Regions from separate parts of the Homo sapiens genome. Here region 1 is linked to region 2. Evidence: promoter capture Hi-C in 16 types of primary human blood cells and fetal thymus (Javierre and others, 2016). All regions are on one chromosome and are shown on one strand. The core of a region is centred on a gene start or on the middle of the fragment in contact, and the rest is flanking DNA. Distances in the headings are between cores, read along the strand shown. Region 1 has its middle 130 kb from the start of CYYR1. Region 2 holds the start of JAM2 (junctional adhesion molecule 2).

Region 1 (4,344 bases), core at 811-3,310, 1.1 Mb after region 2:
TTCTGAGCCCTCCAAACTGTTCCAACCTCTTCCTGTTACCCAGTTCCAAAGTCTTTTCCACATTTTGGGGTATCTTTACAGTAGTGCCCACTACCAGTACCAATTTACTATATTAGTCCATTTTCATACTGCTATGAAAAAATACCCGAGGATGAGCAATTTATACAGAAAAGGAGGTTTAATGGACTAACAGTTCCACATGGCTGGGCAGACCTCACAAGCATGGTAGAAGGCAAAGGAGGAGCAGAGGCTTACACGGCAGCATGCAAGAGAGTTTGTCCAGGGGAACTGCCATTTATAAAACCAGCAGATCTCATGAGACTTATTTACTATTATGAGAACAGCATGGAAAAAACCTGCCTCTGTGATTCAATTACCTCCCACTGGGTCCCCCCCACAACACATGGGGATTATGGGAGCTAAAATTCAAAATGAGATTTGGGTGGGGACACAGCCAAACCATATTACATAGTATTCAGGCTTGTTTTAGGAGTTAGAAAAAGAGGAAGAGGGAACTGATATGTATGTTGTCAGCTCAGCTCCCAAGAAGCACAATTCTGTAGAATATGCCAAAGACATCACAAGGTTAGCAGTTCAATTCTTCATACAAATGGATGCCATAATTTAGCGCCTTTTTTTTAACCAGCCAGTAAAAACTCTCACTTGCAACACAAAGACAATCTTCAAGGCATGCAGTTGCCTTCTATTTCTAATAATTTCTGAAACATGGTAGTGTATTCACGATTTTATTTCAGATTCCATAACTGAAAATCATAACAATAGAATAGAAAGTTCATTTTCACACAATGCCTAGAATTAAATAATGGCAAATTAACTAAATATATAGAGCAAGCCCAAAGAAGAGTAAGAAAAATACTAGACAATAACAATAATGAAAACAGTGCTATGTGTGATGCATTGTGTTGAGATCTTTATACATGTTGTATGGGTTTCCCATTGCTGGTGTAACAAATTACTACAAATTTGATAGCTTAAAATGACACAAATTTATTATCTTACAGTTCTGGGGGCTAGAAGTCTATAATGGTTACAGGGTTGTGTTCCTTCTGGAGGATCTAGGGGGGAATCTGTTCTCTTGCCTTCTTCAGCCTCTCAAAGCTACCCCCATTCCATGGCTCATGGGCCCTTACACACTCTGACCTCTGCTTTAATCATCACACCTCATTCTCTGAACTTGACCCTTCAGCCTCCCTTTTATAAGGGAGGGTCCAATTCAGAGACCATTTTACAATTCACATGGAAGTCTTGTGAATTGAATGGACTCACCCAGATAATCCAGGATACTTTCCCCATCTCAAGATCCCTACCTTAATACCGAAGTCCTCTTTTTCTTGTAACATATTCCCATGTCTGGGGATTGTGACATGGATGTCTGTGGGGACCATTATTTTACCTACCACACATGGATATTGTGGAAATGATGTATTATTTCTGGCCCTGCTGTATATCCATTTTGACCTTTGTTACCTATTGCTTTGAAATTCTCTTTTCAATATTAGGGGAGGGGAGTAAGCCAACTTAATTACTGGATATTCAGGGAACAGGAATGATACTACTTTACCAAGATCTTTGAACTCCATCCCAACAAATCTTTCTTCCACGAATCTAACACATCACAACACTGATTCCAACATAAAAGGATTAATTTTAATTTCCTTTTCCATTCAATTCCAACATGCATGTTTCTTGCAAAGGTGCAAATGAGCTGTGAAATGGTAGGATTACTAGAAAACATTTCTGAGAGAAGCAACATTCTGAAGAATTGATTCACAGGGAAGATAATAAAATTATGGCTACTTAAGGGGAATATATTTCTACTTGACAGACAATGGGATTGTAACTATTGAATTATCTCTGAGAAGAAAGATCATTACAGGGAAATCATGACAAGATGATGTCTTTCAGCATCCTGCCCACCATCTTACATCAGTACAGCTGTGCTTTAACTTAGAGACATGGTATTCATGCTGCTTTTGGGGAAAAATAAAGCATAAAATTACCTAGAATCCTTTGTTATGAGGTGTCATTTTCTATTATGCTTTGTACACTGACATTTCACAATAATAAAATTCTAAGTAGTCATGCCTCTGCCTTCAGGGTAGCTAAACCATGATTGAATGAAATTTACCTACTAAAGTCTGGTTTTCTGAATAAAAGAGGTCAGGACATAGACCCGTACTCTCCAAATTTCATGTTCTAGTAAAATCATTTAAATGAGATGTAGTTGTAACATATGAAAATAACTCTATGTTTCCATTTTGTGTTACAACAATGGATTTTGAATCTCATATTTCAGACCTCAGTCACAAAGATAATTTTATACATTTTTGTAATTATGACTGGGGCCTTGCCCAGGCTAATTAACCTAGTTTCTCTTCTTCTACTAAAGGCCAGATCTTCACAAGTGTCCTGGGACACTCTGCCTCTCCTCTCCTCAGGGACTTTAACTCTCGAGTTATTATGTCTTGATCATGCATCTTTAAATTCTCCCTCTCAGCTGGATAATTTTCTTTAGGAGGCACATAACCTGCACTATCACCAACATTAAAAATTAAAACAAAACTAAAAGATAAACTTTCCTTTGATGCCTATCTTTCCAATACAAATTTTCTCCATTCCTTTATAGCCAAATGCTGTCAAAGGATTGTCTATACCCACAGTGTCTACTCTCTTTTGTTCCATTCAGCATTTCTTTGTCACTATCATACACACTTTAGACAATAAGAAAAATATAGAGAAAATTTAGTAGTAACTTGTGTAATTCCTATCCACTTTTGTCAAATCCCAAAACTTTGGGAAATTTGTTTCACAATTTTTAAAAGTAAAATAACTGGTTAAAATAAACCCCTCTCTAGCCCCCAAATCCCATTCCAAGGTATCCGTGATATTCTGAATTTGTATCTACTGCTTATTATCAAGGTATTAATAAATAAGACATAGGGTGTATTAGGCCATTATTGCATTGCTATGAAGAAATACCTGAGATTGGATAATTTACATTTTTTACAGAGGAGGTTTAATTGGCTTGTAGTTCTGTAGGCTGTATAAGCATGGCACCAACATCACTTGGCTTCTGGGGAGGTCTCAGGGAGCACTTACTCATGGCAGAAGGTGAAGCAGGAGCAGGCACATCACATGGCAAAAGAAGAAGCAAGAGAGAGTTAGAGCAAGGTGCTCTACACTTTTAAGCAACCAGATCTCTCAACAACTCACTCACCACTGTGAGGAGAGCACCAAGGAGCTGGTGCTAAACCACTTACAAGAAATCCACCCACATGATCCAATCACCTCCCACCAGGCCTCACCTCCAATACTGGGGATTACAATTCAACATGAGATTTGGGTGGGGACACATATCCAAACTATATCAACTATATTGTAGGGATATTACACAGTTCTTAAATCTCATGTAAATGGCATTCTTCTGCAGCTTCCTTTGTTCACTTAACAATATGTTTTTGTGATTTTTTTCCATGATGATGATGATATCTATCTATCTATCTATCTATCTATCTATCTATCTATCTCTGGCTTACTCATTTTCCACTGCTGTATAGTTTTCTATTGTTTGAATTTGTGATAATATACTTATGCTTTCTCCTCTAGAATAATATACAGGTTGTTATTAATTTTGCTGTATGAAAACAAACCATGCTGCAAAAAAAGTTCTTGTAAATTTTCTTAGGCATTACTCTAGTGAGAAGAATTAACAGGTTGTAGAATATGTGTGCATTCAAGTTTACTAATCAACTTAACATGACATTGCAAAGTACCTTTCCAAGGTGAAAACACTTAGGTTATTGTCTTCCTTGAGACTACAAAACTCACCATGTTTCCCCTGCTATTTTTAATTTTGGATTGAGAAATTATCTTCATCCTGGCTTTATCAGTGAGAATTCTCTGCTGCCAGAATGGAGGGTGTGTCAGGTACTCAAGTGTATCATCCGCCAGAAACAATTTTTATGTTAATTTCCCAAATTTCTTAGTTTAGTAAATTCATATCCCTAAATCCACAATATAGTGATTATAAATTCTCAGGTGAGATCCCTCCCTCCCCCAAGACCCATTAGAGACAGGCAAGATTTCTTGTTGTTACATATTTTTCTCCTAATCCATGTGTTCCATGAGGGGAAGCTTTTTGAGGATCATTGCATTATGCAATTTTGGGTTTTATTTTCAACTCACTTTACCATCTTCATAGCCTTCTCTTTTGTTCCTGTGTGGTTTTCCAGACTAAGCCCTGTTGTTACTGAAACTGGCAAGCTCACTGCCAGGGCAGCGACAGGATGCATCTGTGTTTGCCTCCTAGGTATTTCCCTGGCC
Region 2 (4,190 bases), core at 932-3,431:
TTTACATATAATTGAATTCAAATTTATATAGCCAGCCAGGCATGGTGGCTCACACCTGTAATTCCAGCACTTTGGGAGGCCAAGGCGTGTGGATCATCTGAGGTCAGAAGTTCGAGACCAGCCTGGCAAACATGGCGAAACCCCATCTCTACAAAAAATACAAAAATTAGCCTGCATGGTGGCACATGCCTGTAGTCCCATCTACTGGACTGAGGAGGCTGAGGCAGGAGAATCACTTGAACCTGGGAGGCGGAGGTTGCAGTGAGCTGAGATTGCACCACTGTACTCCAGCCTGTGTGACAAAGTGAGACTCTGTCTCAAATTAAAAACAAAACAAAAAAAATGTATATAGCCACTTAGATCTATAGGCTACCATATTGGACACCACAGTTCTAAAATATGAGTCTTTTCTTATCTCATTGCTTTCAAAAAGCTCATTAGCTGTAGGATGAGGTCTAGACAGTAGCGTGAATGCTCTTCGTACTCTAACCTCCCCTTCAGTTTCTACCACCACCACCACCTACCTCACTATCCCGATCCCACATACACTTTAGTACTGTAGAACCTTGCTTTTTCTAAATAAACCATAATTTTTCAATCTCCTAGCTCTGGATCCTGCTGTTTCCTCTATGTAGAATGCCTCTCCTTTATGTCCTTCCCTTCAGAATTTGACCCATTTTTCAAGGTTTAATAAAGAAAGCCCTGGCCCCACTCCCAACAAAAGGAACAGCCCCTTATCATGGACCTTGGACAAGCCATTTAGTGTCTCTCCGCCCAGTTTTCTCATCTGCAAAGTGGGAATGATAACATTTCCTCTTTTATGGAGTTGTTGGGGGATTAGATATTGCGTTATTCAGACTCCATCACTGAGAAAGCATGCAATAAAAATAGCTGTTATTATTTTCTGTCCTCCTGTAACATTTACCATGTGGTATCAGGCATCTTTCCTGATAAGACTCTGTCTCCCCTCAAGACTGTGAGCTTGTTAGCAAGAAAGCCTCTATCTTGTTCATGGTTGTCCTTCAGCATCCAGCACATTGTTGCCATTTGTCAAATGCCTTGGCTGGGTGGCAAATAAATAACTTAGTCAGTTACTCACATAGGATTGCATAGAATTTTTTTAAGTATGACATTTTTGTGTATATTTTTAGGGAGGAGTAAAAGACATATAGCTGTAGCAAGAATTAGAAAAAAGAAGATGCCAACAACTTTTCTTTTTAAGCATCAAATCCTTCTCATTACTGCCCAGAAAAACTGGCATAAGCTGTTGTTAAATCTGTGCCCCTTCTCCTCGGTTGACTGGAGTACGAGTTTTAACATTTTGCCATTTTGACTTTCCTTTCTGGGTCCCCTGGGTCCTCTCCTCCCACCCCCTCCCTGGGTACTAAGTTTTCATCACTGTCACCACGGCAACAGCAAGGATGCCTCATTCCTCACAGTTCTGCACAGCTAAACTCTGGTCGCCTTTGTCCACTGAGCTAGCTGAATTCTTTTTAAATACACCACTAAATCAACTATCTGCTGTACAGAACTTCATCCATTATTCAACCTTTAAAAAAAAACAAAAACAAAAACAAACAAAAAAACAAAAGAAAAAAACTGATGTATACTAATTTCTTCTCCTGGGAATGGCCTTTTTCCAGACCTGCCAATACTCTTGAATACACCATACATTTTTGGTCCCTAGGAACAAATATAAAAATTGCCAGTGTACGTGCGTCCAATGTAAGTGTGGTGCAATTTTAAAGCACGCAACAGAGCATTCATAATGGGTTTCCCTTTTAAAAGCACAGTAGACCAAAAATAAACCTGACAAAGGGCAGCTGTAGAGTTTTAACACGTGGAAAACTCCACAAGCAGCAGTTATGTAACTTGAAAGAAACATGATAAATATTTCACACCATTAGATGAACTTCCAACTCTGACACTGAAAAAAAAGCAAAGAACAAGAACGCGAGACAAATGCACCTCAAATCTCCAAGGAGCAAAAAGCTTAAACTGAGAAGGGACCAAGGCTGTACTAAAATCTGAGACCTGACTTCCAGCACGAGTCTTGATTGCTTTTTTTTTTCTCGAGTTCGAGGCGGAGCCCGCGAACCCCATCTCCTCAGAGCGCCACCCCCTCAGCTTCGCCCGTTGGGCAGAATTTTCCAAATATCTCCACCCCTAGGCTGAAAAGCCAGAAAGAAGTTTTGAGCCAACGAGGGGAAGAAAGGAGTTGGGGCAAAACAGGAGGCGTTTCCCTACCCGCATACATCCCCGTCCCCGAGACACCCAATCCCCCCACCCCCAGCCTGCCCGCGCCTCCCGCCCCCAGCTCCTCGCCCTGGGGACAGCTGGCAGCCCCGCGCGGACCAGACACAAAGCCGATCAATCCCGGAGGCGTGGGGGCGGAGGGACGACCCGCCGGGGCTTTCCCGGGCGCTGCTCTCCTCCTGCTGCCCCCTCGCTAGGACCCGGCGGACGCCTCGTCTGGTTTTCACGCCCTCTAGCCCCTACCCCCACACCCCCAAAACAGAACAGACCCCCATCCCTGGGCTGGAGGACCCGCCTCTTGGCAGCCAGCTGAGAAGGCGCCCCGGGGAGGGGGAAACTGACATCCCATCTAGAGCCGTCCCTCCTCTTCCTCCCCTCCCGACTCTCTGCTCCTTTCCCGCCCCAGAAGTTCAAGGGCCCCCGGCCTCCTGCGCTCCTGCCGCCGGGACCCTCGACCTCCTCAGAGCAGCCGGCTGCCGCCCCGGGAAGATGGCGAGGAGGAGCCGCCACCGCCTCCTCCTGCTGCTGCTGCGCTACCTGGTGGTCGCCCTGGGCTGTAAGTTGCTCGGGTTCCTCTACCCTTCCTGCCTGGACCAGCCTGCCCCCACCCTCCAGCCCCCCACGGGGCGCTGGCTGACAGTGTCTGGGCGGCTCTGGGCCGAGGTCGCCGCGGGGCGTCTGACCTTGCGCCCAGGCGAGCGGGAAACCCAGGGTGCCCGCGAGCGGACGCTGGGAGCAAGGGAGCGCGAGGTCGTGGGTTTCTTGTGAATTGCGTCTGATTTTGTCAGTTCTAGATACAGAAAATTAAGGGTTCCCACTAGCAGGTTCTCATCTGTTTGCAAAGTTGGGGTAAGTTTTCAGACAGAGGGACGTGATTCGAATGCAAAACTCACTACCCACTGGTAAGATGCTAAGACCCCAAGAAAGATGGCATCACTGGGAGGCGGGCGCCGGCCACACTTTGAGTCCCCGGGGAGGGGGCAGCGTCCGCGTGGTCTGGGCTCTGTAGCGTCCCAGCTGAGCCGGCGATATGCAGCGCACTTGTGGGGCGGAGGTGGAGGGAATTCGTGGCTGCTGAGCCAGAATTACTTTTATCCTCTCCACCTGCACATCTACATTCACTTAGAGAAGTCTGGTCTGGGGACTCTAGCCAGCTGCTCTGTCCTCAGGGGACATCCAACGGGACGATTGTTAGAAAGATTCAGAAGCCACATGATCCAGTAGCTGGGGAGACGTCCCAAAGCCAATTTCACCGGATGATTTTAAACAGGATTTTCACGGATTCTGGACTCATGAGATTTGAAATCCTGGGAACGTTGCCGTTATTTTGTTTTCTTCGCGTTAACTTTTTAGGAAAATGGAGGAAATTACAATAGACTAAGCAATGCAGTTCTACTTTTGCTTTTTCTTTTTTCTCTCACCTTTTTTGTTTTGCTTTTTTCCCTTCCTTCCTTCCTCCCTTCCTTTCTCTTTCTTCTTTCTTTCTCTCTCTCTTTCTTTCTGTCTCTCTTTCTTTCTTTTGTAAAATGAGTTATTGTTGCTATTCACGTTCTGGTAAAGTAACACTTATAATACTTAACCTGCGGGACGAGTGTCTAATACCACAATACAATGATATTTTCTCACGCCCTCGCTGCCCAAGTGATCATCGCACAGCTCAAGTGATGTGAGCCACGTCCCTTTGTGGAGGAGGAAGGTGCACATTGTCTCAGGCAAGGGACATGTACTGACCAATATTATATAAAGTCAAACCAGAAAGCCAAAGTTTCACAATGAAACCCTTGTGCAATTCTGAAATATCAATTGGTATCATATGGAACACACAGAAGAAAAAAAATGCACTCATGCTAAAAGGCAACAGAGAGGTAGGCTGGAGAAATCGTTAACAGAACAACTGAGAAAGTTATGTATTCTGCTGAAATTCTAAATTTCAA

The links. Contacts are between HindIII fragments. The CHiCAGO score rates a contact against its expected background, and 5 or more counts as called.
Region 1: a contact is called between a fragment that was not itself captured here and the fragment with the promoter of JAM2 in region 2, in 1 of 17 cell types (non-activated CD4 T cells). The highest score is 5.1, in non-activated CD4 T cells.

What each region holds. Positions count from the first base shown.
Region 1 is chr21:26,703,162-26,707,505 of GRCh38, forward strand. No RefSeq gene overlaps it. Among named protein-coding and RNA genes, the nearest start is that of CYYR1, 130 kb to the left of the region's middle. The HindIII fragment of the contact is 4,185 bases long and covers 1-4,153 here.
Region 2 is chr21:25,637,077-25,641,266 of GRCh38, forward strand. JAM2 (junctional adhesion molecule 2) reads left to right here and starts at 2,182. Exons shown (of 10, transcript NM_021219.4): 1 at 2,182-2,812. The coding sequence starts at 2,746. RefSeq lists enhancers at 1,815-1,954, 2,692-3,192, 3,095-3,164 and a silencer at 2,175-2,364. The HindIII fragment of the contact is 2,383 bases long and covers 1,991-4,190 here.